3 separate regions of the Homo sapiens genome follow, and regions 2 and 3 are each linked to region 1. Evidence: promoter capture Hi-C in 16 types of primary human blood cells and fetal thymus (Javierre and others, 2016). All regions are on one chromosome and are shown on one strand. The core of a region is centred on a gene start or on the middle of the fragment in contact, and the rest is flanking DNA. Distances in the headings are between cores, read along the strand shown. Region 1 holds the start of MAB21L3 (mab-21 like 3). Region 2 overlaps LOC112268235 (a long non-coding RNA gene). Region 3 overlaps CD58 (CD58 molecule).

Region 1 (3,493 bases), core at 915-3,414:
AGTTGAAGTTACTTGAACACCACACTAAAAAGTTTGGAGTTTTTTCTTACAAAAAATACAGGACCCACGAAAAAAATGCCAGCCAATATCTCTTCCACTTAGAGCCCTCAAAGGGAGGAATTAATGGGAAATCACTTTGTTTACTCTAGTTTTTATCATCCCAGGTTTTCCTTATTTATCTCTCTTAATGGTTTTGCCTAAGAAATACATTTTACTTATCACTATGATAATGATCTTCTCTTTCGAACTTGTAAAGGCATGAAAACTGCAGACCAGTGCCTACTTCTTAGTCAATTTAAATATTTTGGTTTTAACATTAACATCATGCCTTAGTAGCTTCATCCGTAAATGAAAAGGCTTAAACTAGGTAATATTTAAGTTTCCTTCAAGTTCTAACATTTGACATGACCATCTAGACCATCTAGAAGAAATTAAGTTCTTAACTGATGTGTACTAAAAATATAATAATATTTAAAAACCTAGTACTTTCACAGTCTTTAAAAAGCTTTGTTTTAATTTCATTAGCTCTTTTTCCATTACCCCATGAAGCTCCTATTATTATTCCCATTTTACAGAGAAGAAGGCCAAGGCTCAGGCAGGTTAAGTGACTCACAACCACACGAGTGTCAGTGGCAGAGCTGGAGTTCCCCCTCATTCCCCAGATTCCTACTCTCCATTCTATATTCTATACTCAGCATGTCTCTGGGTACCAGACCCTCAAAGAGAAGTAAGGCTGATATATGTTAAGCCCCCAAACATTGTTATAGGTGACAGTCTGTTTTCTGAGGAGCATTTTATGTGTCTTTAGAAAGAGCCTGAGATCCTTTCTGGACGAAGGTTTGTTTGGAAGTAGTGTGAATGGGGAGGGGGTTCATGGGAGAGACCGGGTCTGTCCTTACCTTATTCAGTAGGCAATCTTCTAAGTCTCCCACAGTAAGGTATTTCATGGCTTCTTGGTCAGTCCTCAGTAGAACAGCAACTTCCTGGTTTTTTTTTTTTTCTCAATGGAGTGCAACACTTGTGAGTAGATAGCACTCCCAGTAATGTGAGTCTCTGGGTACTAAGTTTTTCTGGAAGTGTGTAATGGACCAGAGACTTGCCTTCCGAACCCTTCACTCATGTTTTTATTTCCAAATTGTGAAAATCCATCTGTCATCTTTTGGGAAATTAAAAAAAAAAGAATTTAAAAAGAAGAGTTGATAAAATTGAATTTGAGTCCAACCTAATCATACCTTAGTTAGCTACATTGACTGGTGCTTTCACCAGAGAGCAATTTTCCAAATTGTATTTCCCACCCAAGTACTTAAAAGTTCCATCCAAGTCAGAAATACCCTGTAGTTGGCTTCTCCCCACCTTTTATGCTCCTGTCCCAACACTAGATGCACCGTGGAACTCAGTATCTTATATCTCCTGGTCCTTATCCTGTTGACAGTAAACACCCCTTGCTCTCCAAGCCAGAAAATCCCACGGATTGATTTACCTTCTTTACAATAAACAAATAGGAAACTGCCCAACAACCAGCCTGACACCCATCATTATGCCCGCAAACAAGTGATCAGGTCTTGTCAGCCAGCGCAGAGCACAACGGTTGGCATTTAGAAAAGCATGCACACACGTACACACAGGCACACACATATACACAGGCACACACGTACACACAGGCACACACATATACACAGGCACACACACGTACACAGAGTGCACACGGGCACACACCCACAGGAATGGCTGGTCAGGAATCCTTCTGCTCACCTGCTGACCTTTAAACGTAATTTCCCTCTTCCAACTTGAAAGCTGGCAGTAAAAATAAAGTCAGTGTAAACAGGTCCCTTTAGAGTCGAGGGAACACTCACGTCTGGTTTTGCCAGCAAAACTTATGTTGGAAAACAGCTCAGGCAGTAAATTCCCAGTTGGGCTGGCTGGGGCTAGTTTTACTACAGAAAAAAAAAAAAAATTTCACAATGGTCTGATCTCCTTGAAGCTGGTAAACATCACGGAGTCTGCTATCAGATAATCTAAAGAAATTACAGCCCTTCTGGGAGCACTACTTACTTTTAAACAATGTTCCAAAGGCAAGTGTTTCCAAGCCCACCTGTAAGTGCTGCCCACAAAGGCCACTGCACTATTTGGGGCCTCAGCGTTTGCATATCTTCCCATACTCTGCCCCAAGCAAAAGCCGCATCAGAGCTCCCTAGCTGCTCTGTGCCCCACCCACGTCATTACCTCCAGCTTTCAGTCCAACTTCTACAGAACTCCTGCCAATGCACAGCCTGATATAAATATTGTAAAGCTACATCCTCTCCAATGACCCTCTGATAGCACCCCTCAAAACAGCCTTGATTTTCCATTTGTTTCTATATGTAATTCTAAATCTCCTTCTTTTGATATCAAGTGCTCCCAAATTTTTCAGAATCTTATTCCCTGGGCTTTTCTTATCATAGTAGTGCCAAACTATTTGTTTTTCACAGACAGCAAGAGCCTCTTTCTCTGAACTTGCAATTTAGAATTCTCTCTCCACCTCATTTTCAACATTACGAAAGTCCCACTGTTTCTCTCATGTGCTCATTTTTGTTGTTACTTCTGCTTTCACTGTAATCATTAACTTGTGAGTCCCTTTCCTCCGGTGGGGTCTTTCCTAATGTTCGAGGGTTACCCCAGACACCTGTCATCAGATGCACAAACTTTCATTATTTTTGCACCTGTGGCTGCCCTATCTTGATTGCTCCAGTACCGCAGCTGATCAAAATGTTATAACTGGAATATTCTCTTGCCCTACGATCCAGCGACAATTGCCGGCTGTGAGCAGGGAAAGCAACCAACAGGGCCAACTGAGCAATCAGGAAACGAAGAAATAATCATGTGCTCAGGGAAGCTACACAGTCCGATTTTACCAGGATGTCATATCCAGGGAATAGGTGTGTTGTGGGGGCACAACCCAATTCCCTACTCCATGATTTAGCTCCTTATGGGCAAATGCTCTGAAATACAGGGCAGTCCCACAAATAGACTCTCTGACAGCTCCTGTCTGACAGTTTGATGAAGACAAGCTTTTTTTAGATGTAGATATCTGGGTAATTGGATATAGGATTCGCAAAAGGATTGAATTACAGTAAGCCTAAGGCACTTGTATGCTAGGCCACTGAGGAAATTCAAAGTTAGCTCAGGTTCTCTTCCTTCCTCAGAAAATAAATATTCTCCTTTCTCATGACTCACACCAAATGCAAGTACGGAAATGTAAACCTGCTTTGGCTCAGTTTCCATTGTGAAGACTAAGAACTTATTACAAGTCAGGTTAACAAGGCATGCAAAACCCTACGCTGCCAATCTGAGAAGTCCCGGGGAGATAATGCTAGCCCTGGTTTACCAGCAGAAGTGTTTGTTACTGATTTACTTAGTGTCTGAGATTTTAATTCCAAGAAGGAGGAAGGTTAGCTTGATCAAAATCAACCTTAAATATACAAATTTGTTAAAGTTTGCAGGATTACAAACTCTG
Region 2 (3,364 bases), core at 143-2,642, 380 kb before region 1:
GAAGGTCTTTCAGATGGGCTCTGGGATGTGGAACCATGGCGTCCAGCCCTAGCGTCGACTCCACACTAGAGGCACCCTGACTTTCGCCCCCTTCTTACCTGAGTATCAGCTTACTTCCATCTGGGGACTGAATATGGGGCAGATTCCAGAAAAAGGAGGTTGGGGCACCAAAACCAACACCAACTCTGCCAACGGAGCCAGCACAGCTATTTGTCTCCAACCACAGGCCGCAAGGGAAGTTCACGGGCTCGGCACCCCCAGGTCCCGGATGTAAGGATATTGCCCGTTAGACAAAGGAAAGGCCCCAAGTCCACAACTCATGTTTGTGAGCTTAACCTTGTCCTATAAAGCACTTTGGAACAGGCCCAGGTTCTCCCACCATGTACAGCTGCCATTGACCTGGACAGTCCCGCAAGGTCCTTCAGTGGAAACCCAGAAGGGAGAGTCACTGCATGTGAACCCTAAGGGTTCTGGAGGTCAAAGTTGCTGTGGGTGACAGGCAACCAAGACTAAGGGCAAACTTGAAACATAAATGAGTTAAAACCCACAAAAATAAGACAGTTTTAAATAACTAAACTGTTTTCTCATTCTTCCTTTTTCATCTGAGGACGTTTTAGGCAAATGAAGCTTTAGAGTTTTTCTCCTTTCATTGGGTTGACAGTGTTTAAAATTATATCCAGAGCTGTCTAATTTGCCTATTGCTCTAGGCATACTGATCCTCAGGAGGTAAGATTGGATGGGTTAAAGTGGACAGGCTCAGGGGCTGAGACTGTCCATCTCTCTGAGAGTCGGGGGCAGCATTTATCAGGGGCCTGTGGTCAGCCAAGCTTGGCTTGGGCTCTGTGGGAAGATAAAACCAACTGGCCCAGATGGACTTCTGTGGGGCCTGGATACTGTTGGGAAGATAAAGCACATAAGCCCGGTAAGAAAAAAAAAAAAAAAAAAAAAAAAAAGCCCAGGAGAAGGAATGCAAGTGATTCCAATGCAATTGAATTAAGTACAAACTCACTAGGAATGGGGGGGGGGGTTTGATTGGCGAAGGGGTTAGTCAGGGGTGGTTAACCACAGAAGATTGAGGAGGTGAACTTTAAGTTGGACTTGGAGGTAGAAGAGAGAAGTTAGGGGAAGCATTTGTTTTATATTTGGGTGGGGTGCGTGGGAGTGTGGATAAGTGAAGTGTCACACACACACACACACACAACTTTGAGTAGGAAGAGGGTCAAGATGACCAGGTTGGCCTAGACAAGTCAGTACTAGCTTAAAAAGTCACACTCAGGATTCCTGCAGCACCTCCCCCATACCCACCCCCACCCCAATGGGCACAGCACTCCCTCTTCTCTCCAACGCAGGCCTCCTGTCTGGGGTGCTATGATCATTTCCATAGCAACCAATTGCTCTGTGACAGAGACATAATTCTGACTCCAGGTAGGTTATGAACAGAAGAAACATATGAAACCAGTAAGTGACAGAGATCTAGTTTTCCAGTAAGTGCCCTGCTAATAAAGAAGAGAAAATGCACAAACTAAAAGATAAATGGAACAGGAATGAGCAAATGCTAAATTTTCTATGAGGCATCAGCTGTTTGTTTGCTAAAAACAATAGCAACCTAATAGTTTCAACAAGAATGGTGCTGGCAAGGACAGCTCAGAACAGCCTCTGTCAGTCTGCAGAGTAGGGGCGATGGCAGAGCCCGGGTATGCACAGTGTCAGGGTTGTGAGGCAGAAAGATGCCTTAAACGCATCACCTCAATCCTGCACACATCCCTAGTGCCTTTATTGGAAAAGCTGCACTGCTGCTGCTGTGAATCCAGCATGACCTCGCCTTCATTCATTCATTCACTTATACATGCATGCATGCATGCATATATTCAAGAACTCATCAGTGCTAGGTAGGTTACTAATTAGAAATAATTGGGAGAAAAGTCTGAATTACTAGGTATTTTAGAAGCAAAGCTTTCTTACTCTGAAAGCATGGCTGAGATGGTGCCTTCAGCAGGGACTCAGAGAGTCTGATCCAGTCTGGGTCTGCCACTCACACTCTGTATAACCTTGTGCAAGCCACTTACCAGTCTTGGTCTTCATCTTGTAGATGAGGTGATTGGTGATCTATGTGATGCTTCCAGATCTGTCTAGTTCAGAGGCCTGCTTTAAGTGTCTAAACGGTTAATGTCAGAGTGAGTTGATGTGTTCGGTATTTTCATAGAGCAGAACCAAGACTGTTTACTCATTTACCATTTATTTCCACCTTCTGTTGATATTGATTGACCACTTACTATGTGACAGTCACAGATCTAGGCATCAGAAATAAAGGTAAGACGTGATGGTGGCTTCAGGGCCCTCATGGCCAGGTTGGGGGACAGGCAGGCCCAGGCTCAGACCCATAGGGCACAAGCTGGTCTCCAAGTGTGGACAGAGCTCATCAGGTGTGGGGAAGGGCACCTCCACCTGTGGTCAAGAGCTCTCTCCACACCCTGGATGGGGCTGGAAGGAAAGGCAGGAGGCAGACTCAGAGAGGAGGAGCTGCATGGAGAGGGGGTGCTGAGGAAGCCCCACATGACCCAGGAATCTTGCGGGGAGCGGAGAGTAGAGAGATGCAGACAGGCCATGCCAAGGCCCGTGCTCTGACATCATGGTCATCCTTCTCAAAGATCTGGAGATTAACAGACCACATAGAAGAAGGGGCAATAAGTTAAGGAGAAAGAAAATAAGCAGAATCCCAGGAGAGAAGAGCATAAGGTCTGGGCTTTGTGCAGGCATATTTGCCTCCAGGGGAGATACCAGTTGCTGCCTAGTGCTGTCATCACTAAGGCCTGGGGTGAGGCTAAGAGGTGGACACCTGGGGAGGAGCTGGGAGTGAGTGCCCAGACTGGGAAAAGACTAAGGGAACATACTAGGCTGCCAGAAAGCCTGGAGCTTTCTGAACTCACCTGAACCTTCTGAGCTTTGGGCAGGGTGCTTTAGTCTGCCCTAAAACCGGCAGAGGGCTTAACGCATGGTTTCAGTGCAGAGCAATGTCCATCTTCTCTAAAACACCCAGAAAGATTTGGTGAGTGAATTACAGACTGTGGTGCTAAGGGGAGTCTTAGCCAAAGAGACAACTACTTGCCTTTGAGTTTTCCATGCTTGTCTACTTAACAGAATCATGAGGACTCCCATATCCTCTCCTAAAAATTAACCAGTTAATTATTCAACACGCATTTTGCAGCAGCTAGTTGGTATTATTCGTTATGCTACAAATTCTCAGGGCTCAACAGAGGCATTGTTCATGTCCTTGAGGAGTTTATAGTACAGCTGGGAGTTTGCGTATGCAAGTGAAAGTTTATATGCACTAAGTTATATCTATTAAGGGCTAAACCAGGAGTGC
Region 3 (3,416 bases), core at 682-3,181, 410 kb before region 1:
ATGCCAGCATGACCCATTAATGTATTTTGTCTCTTAGAAAATTGTGTATTTCCTGGTTCTGTCCATTGAAATGTTCTAGAAACAAGAGCCAGTCCTGTAGCAATTTGCATGCTTCTTGGTTCTTGGACCCAGATTTGAGTGACCAGTGTTACCTGGTGTGCCCAGACTTCCCAGTTTCAGCACCCGAATTTCATATCCCAGGAAACTCTTCAGTTTCAGGAAAACCAGGATGATTGGCCACCTTCACCCAGATTATGGTACCTAATTATCATTTCCCATGAAAATGAACTAGGGCCTTTGGGACAGTTGGCTGATTCCATACCTGGGGCATGGAATGCATTAAAATAAGCCTTGAGTATCTTATTTTACCACAGAACAAGAAAGCTATCAAAAAGACTTAACATGATGGTACGAACAGGACTCAGGAGCCACTCTGAAGAGGTTCCCTCTGGCCAAAAATAAGACAATTGGAACATCAATAAGAATAACAACTTCAGTAGATTGAAACACATCAGTTGTGCTCAGTTCATGCGTTCATAATGTACTAAAAACAAATTTAAAAACTCACTGGTCATCTCTAGAGAATGCTTGGGAGCTAACTCATTATTTTGAAAAACGATAAAGAAAGAGAAGAATCAAATGCTGCTTTTCCTATATAAATTGAACCTCAGAGTAACCACATTGTTGATGAGGGGCAGTTTATCTTTATGTGAAGATTGTAGTTAGTAAAGAAGGAATGATAGACTAAACCACTTTGCAAACCCTTGATGAACTTATGGCTCTAGACAATGATCTTCAGTGGCACTGACATCATGAAAAGAAAAGCAACCAGGCATCGTATGCCACCTAAGGGAAGTATACAAACACTACTTGGGGAGTATTATTGCCAAGGAATATCTGAATTTTGCTACTAAAGAAGGGAAAATGATGTTCGGGGGCACCTAGCAGTTTCTGGCCAGGGTCTTCTCAAATCTGACCAATAGGTGACTGCCTATTTGCTCCAACACACCTGTGTTCCTAATAAAAGGAAAGTGTGATCATATCCTTATTCTCATTTATTCATTCATTTTCTCTCTCTCTTCCTCCTCTCCCTTCCTTTCCCTTCCTTTCCCATATCCATGTCACATTTGTTCTTAGTGACCCCTCCCCAATCCTTTAGCAGTGCATTGTGTACTCTGATTTTGGATTTTCAATAGCTGGATAGAGTTTACCTTGTGAACATACCACAGTTTTTTGTGAAAACAAGGAGCTGCTGTGAAAACAACTTAGGTTGTTTTTGCCTTATGGTATATTAAGTAAGGCTGCAGTAAATATCTTTGTGCCTTTTTGCGGGGAGTAGAAGGGCACATCATTGATATTTTCCCCAGGATAACATCTTAGAAATGGAATTGCAGAGTCACAAGATATTAATAGAGATACCAATAACATCTACTCAATAGGTTAATGACAGTATATAACAGCTGTTCTTAAATGCAACTACCCTATGAGATAAGTATATTTATTAGTCTCGAGTATAGTTACCCTGTGAGAAAATGGAGGCACTGAGAGGTTAAGGCACTTGCCCAACATTGTAATGACTTAGTGAGACTATAGGCACATGACTTAGTGCAATGTCTAGATGCTTCATGATAAATATTTTTAAGGCTTATTATATACAACTGCCAGAATTGCCCTACCAAACACAATGCCAAGTTCTGCTTCCACTGGCAGTATGAGATGGTCAGAAACAAACCTTCTAGTGGAACACTTGCTTCTTTTATTAAATAACACAGGGTCTGGAATGTATCAAGCTTGTGCATATAAGTTTGTTTAGAAATAGTCGAATCTTGTTATTCATATTAGTTCTACAGAGTCAAGTTAACAGTGAAATAGCAAGTAGTGAAGTAATGTTCCTGGGGGAAATACAGGGGTAGGTTCCTGTGAGCCTCTAGTCATAAGATTTTTGTTAATGATCTGTTTATAACCTTGTTTTATGTGTGTCTCTGTTTAAATAAACCTTAATATATAGTGTTGATTTATTGACCTTGAACTCATAGCCAACAGCACTGTAACTCATGCCTAAGTGAAGCTTATCTAATACACCTATTTTCTCTGCAAGGCACATCGCAGCCTTCTTGCACTTAGGAACTCTTGTCAGCCCTTCAACACTATACTTTGGGACCACTTAAAATAGTGAAATCACCAACAAAAAAGCACAAAAATGCAAAATCATGGCACTAAATAGACTGCAAATAGGACACTTGTTAACAGTGTAAGAACTTGAAACAAGAAGGCAGAGCTTTACCTTTTTCCACCTCTGCTGGGAATCTGCTTATTGGGTGACTCAAAGTTTTCATCACTGTTCTTATGTCTGAGAATGACTGCTTTGGGTATTGATTTGTGGATTACAAATAAATTTCAGTAAATAAGCAAACCGCAAGGTGGAATCTGCAAATAATGAGGATCCATTTTGATCAGTTCAACTAGTTGAATTTCTTTTCTTTTCTTTTTTATAGGTCATTCAAGACACAGATATGCACTTATACCCATACCATTAGCAGTAATTACAACATGTATTGTGCTGTATATGAATGGTATGTATGCTTTTTAAAACAAAATAGTTTGAAAACTTGCATTGTTTTCCAAAGGTCAGAAAATAGTTTAAGGATGAAAATAAAGTTTGAAATTTTAGACATTTGAAAAGAAACAAAAACTTTTTTGCTTTACGTGTGTGGGACTGCTGAGCATGCTAGGTTCCTCCAAAGATCCACATTATCTCAAGGTAGAATGAATCCTTAGGCCACAGAGAGCTTTACAGGCCTGGGAACACAGCCTGGACCTGTTGCATAGCCTCCTTTTACCTGTGATCTGCTTCAAAATATAGTTAAACTTCTGGTCTCCAAGTCAGAGTTTGCTAAAGACCTCTTTAGGCTGCCACCTCTGTAATTTTCATGTCATATAACACGAATGGGGCTCCCAGGTAGGAAGGGAGTTTTGGTTGAGTTAAGTGACTTACGTAATACAAGTAATTGTGCTTGTATTACTTCCTGAGCCTTCTCAGTCCCCTAGCAATCTTGGGCAGTCATACAGCTTGGAGAACTGATGACTTGGAGAATTTGTTCCCAGCCTGTTCATTCCTGGTAATGAGTAATCCCTCTCAAATCCCAAAGGACAGGGAGCAGGCTGTAATTCTGAAGAGTGGATATTCTTGATGCCACAGCAGTTTCCATACCAGCCTTCACCAAAAGGAAATATGCCAGACAGGGAATGCCGAAGAGTAAACTTTCTACAAGTGATAGTATCTAGGATCCATTGTGTCATGAATCAAGTTTATAAACTAGATTTCAGTTTCCTTAGACCTGCACTGTTTAGTATAGTAGCCAATTAGCCACATATGATTATTTAAATATATCATTTAAAATGAAATACCATTAAAT

What was found. The method cuts DNA at HindIII sites, captures the fragments that hold promoters and counts their contacts. A CHiCAGO score of 5 or more calls a contact.
Region 2: a fragment that was not itself captured here is called in contact with the fragment with the promoter of MAB21L3 in region 1 in 12 of 17 cell types (naive CD4 T cells, fetal thymus, naive B cells and 9 more); the score reaches 11.6 in naive CD4 T cells.
Region 3: a fragment that was not itself captured here is called in contact with the fragment with the promoter of MAB21L3 in region 1 in 3 of 17 cell types (naive CD4 T cells, fetal thymus and total CD4 T cells); the score reaches 7.0 in naive CD4 T cells.

The regions. Positions count from the first base shown.
Region 1 is chr1:116,110,070-116,113,562 of GRCh38, reverse strand. MAB21L3 (mab-21 like 3) reads right to left here and starts at 2,164. Exons shown (of 8, transcript NM_152367.3): 1 at 2,053-2,164; 2 at 1,753-1,934; 3 at 900-1,156. The coding sequence starts at 947. The HindIII fragment of the contact is 2,542 bases long and covers 508-3,049 here.
Region 2 is chr1:116,490,228-116,493,591 of GRCh38, reverse strand. It overlaps LOC112268235 (a long non-coding RNA gene), which reads right to left. Exons shown (of 2, transcript XR_002958352.2): 1 at 99-3,364. Among named protein-coding and RNA genes, the nearest start is that of LINC01762, 13 kb to the right of the region's middle. The HindIII fragment of the contact is 1,126 bases long and covers 830-1,955 here.
Region 3 is chr1:116,521,063-116,524,478 of GRCh38, reverse strand. It overlaps CD58 (CD58 molecule), which reads left to right. Exons shown (of 6, transcript NM_001779.3): 4 at 2,496-2,573. Among named protein-coding and RNA genes, the nearest start is that of MIR548AC, 37 kb to the left of the region's middle. The HindIII fragment of the contact is 278 bases long and covers 1,793-2,070 here.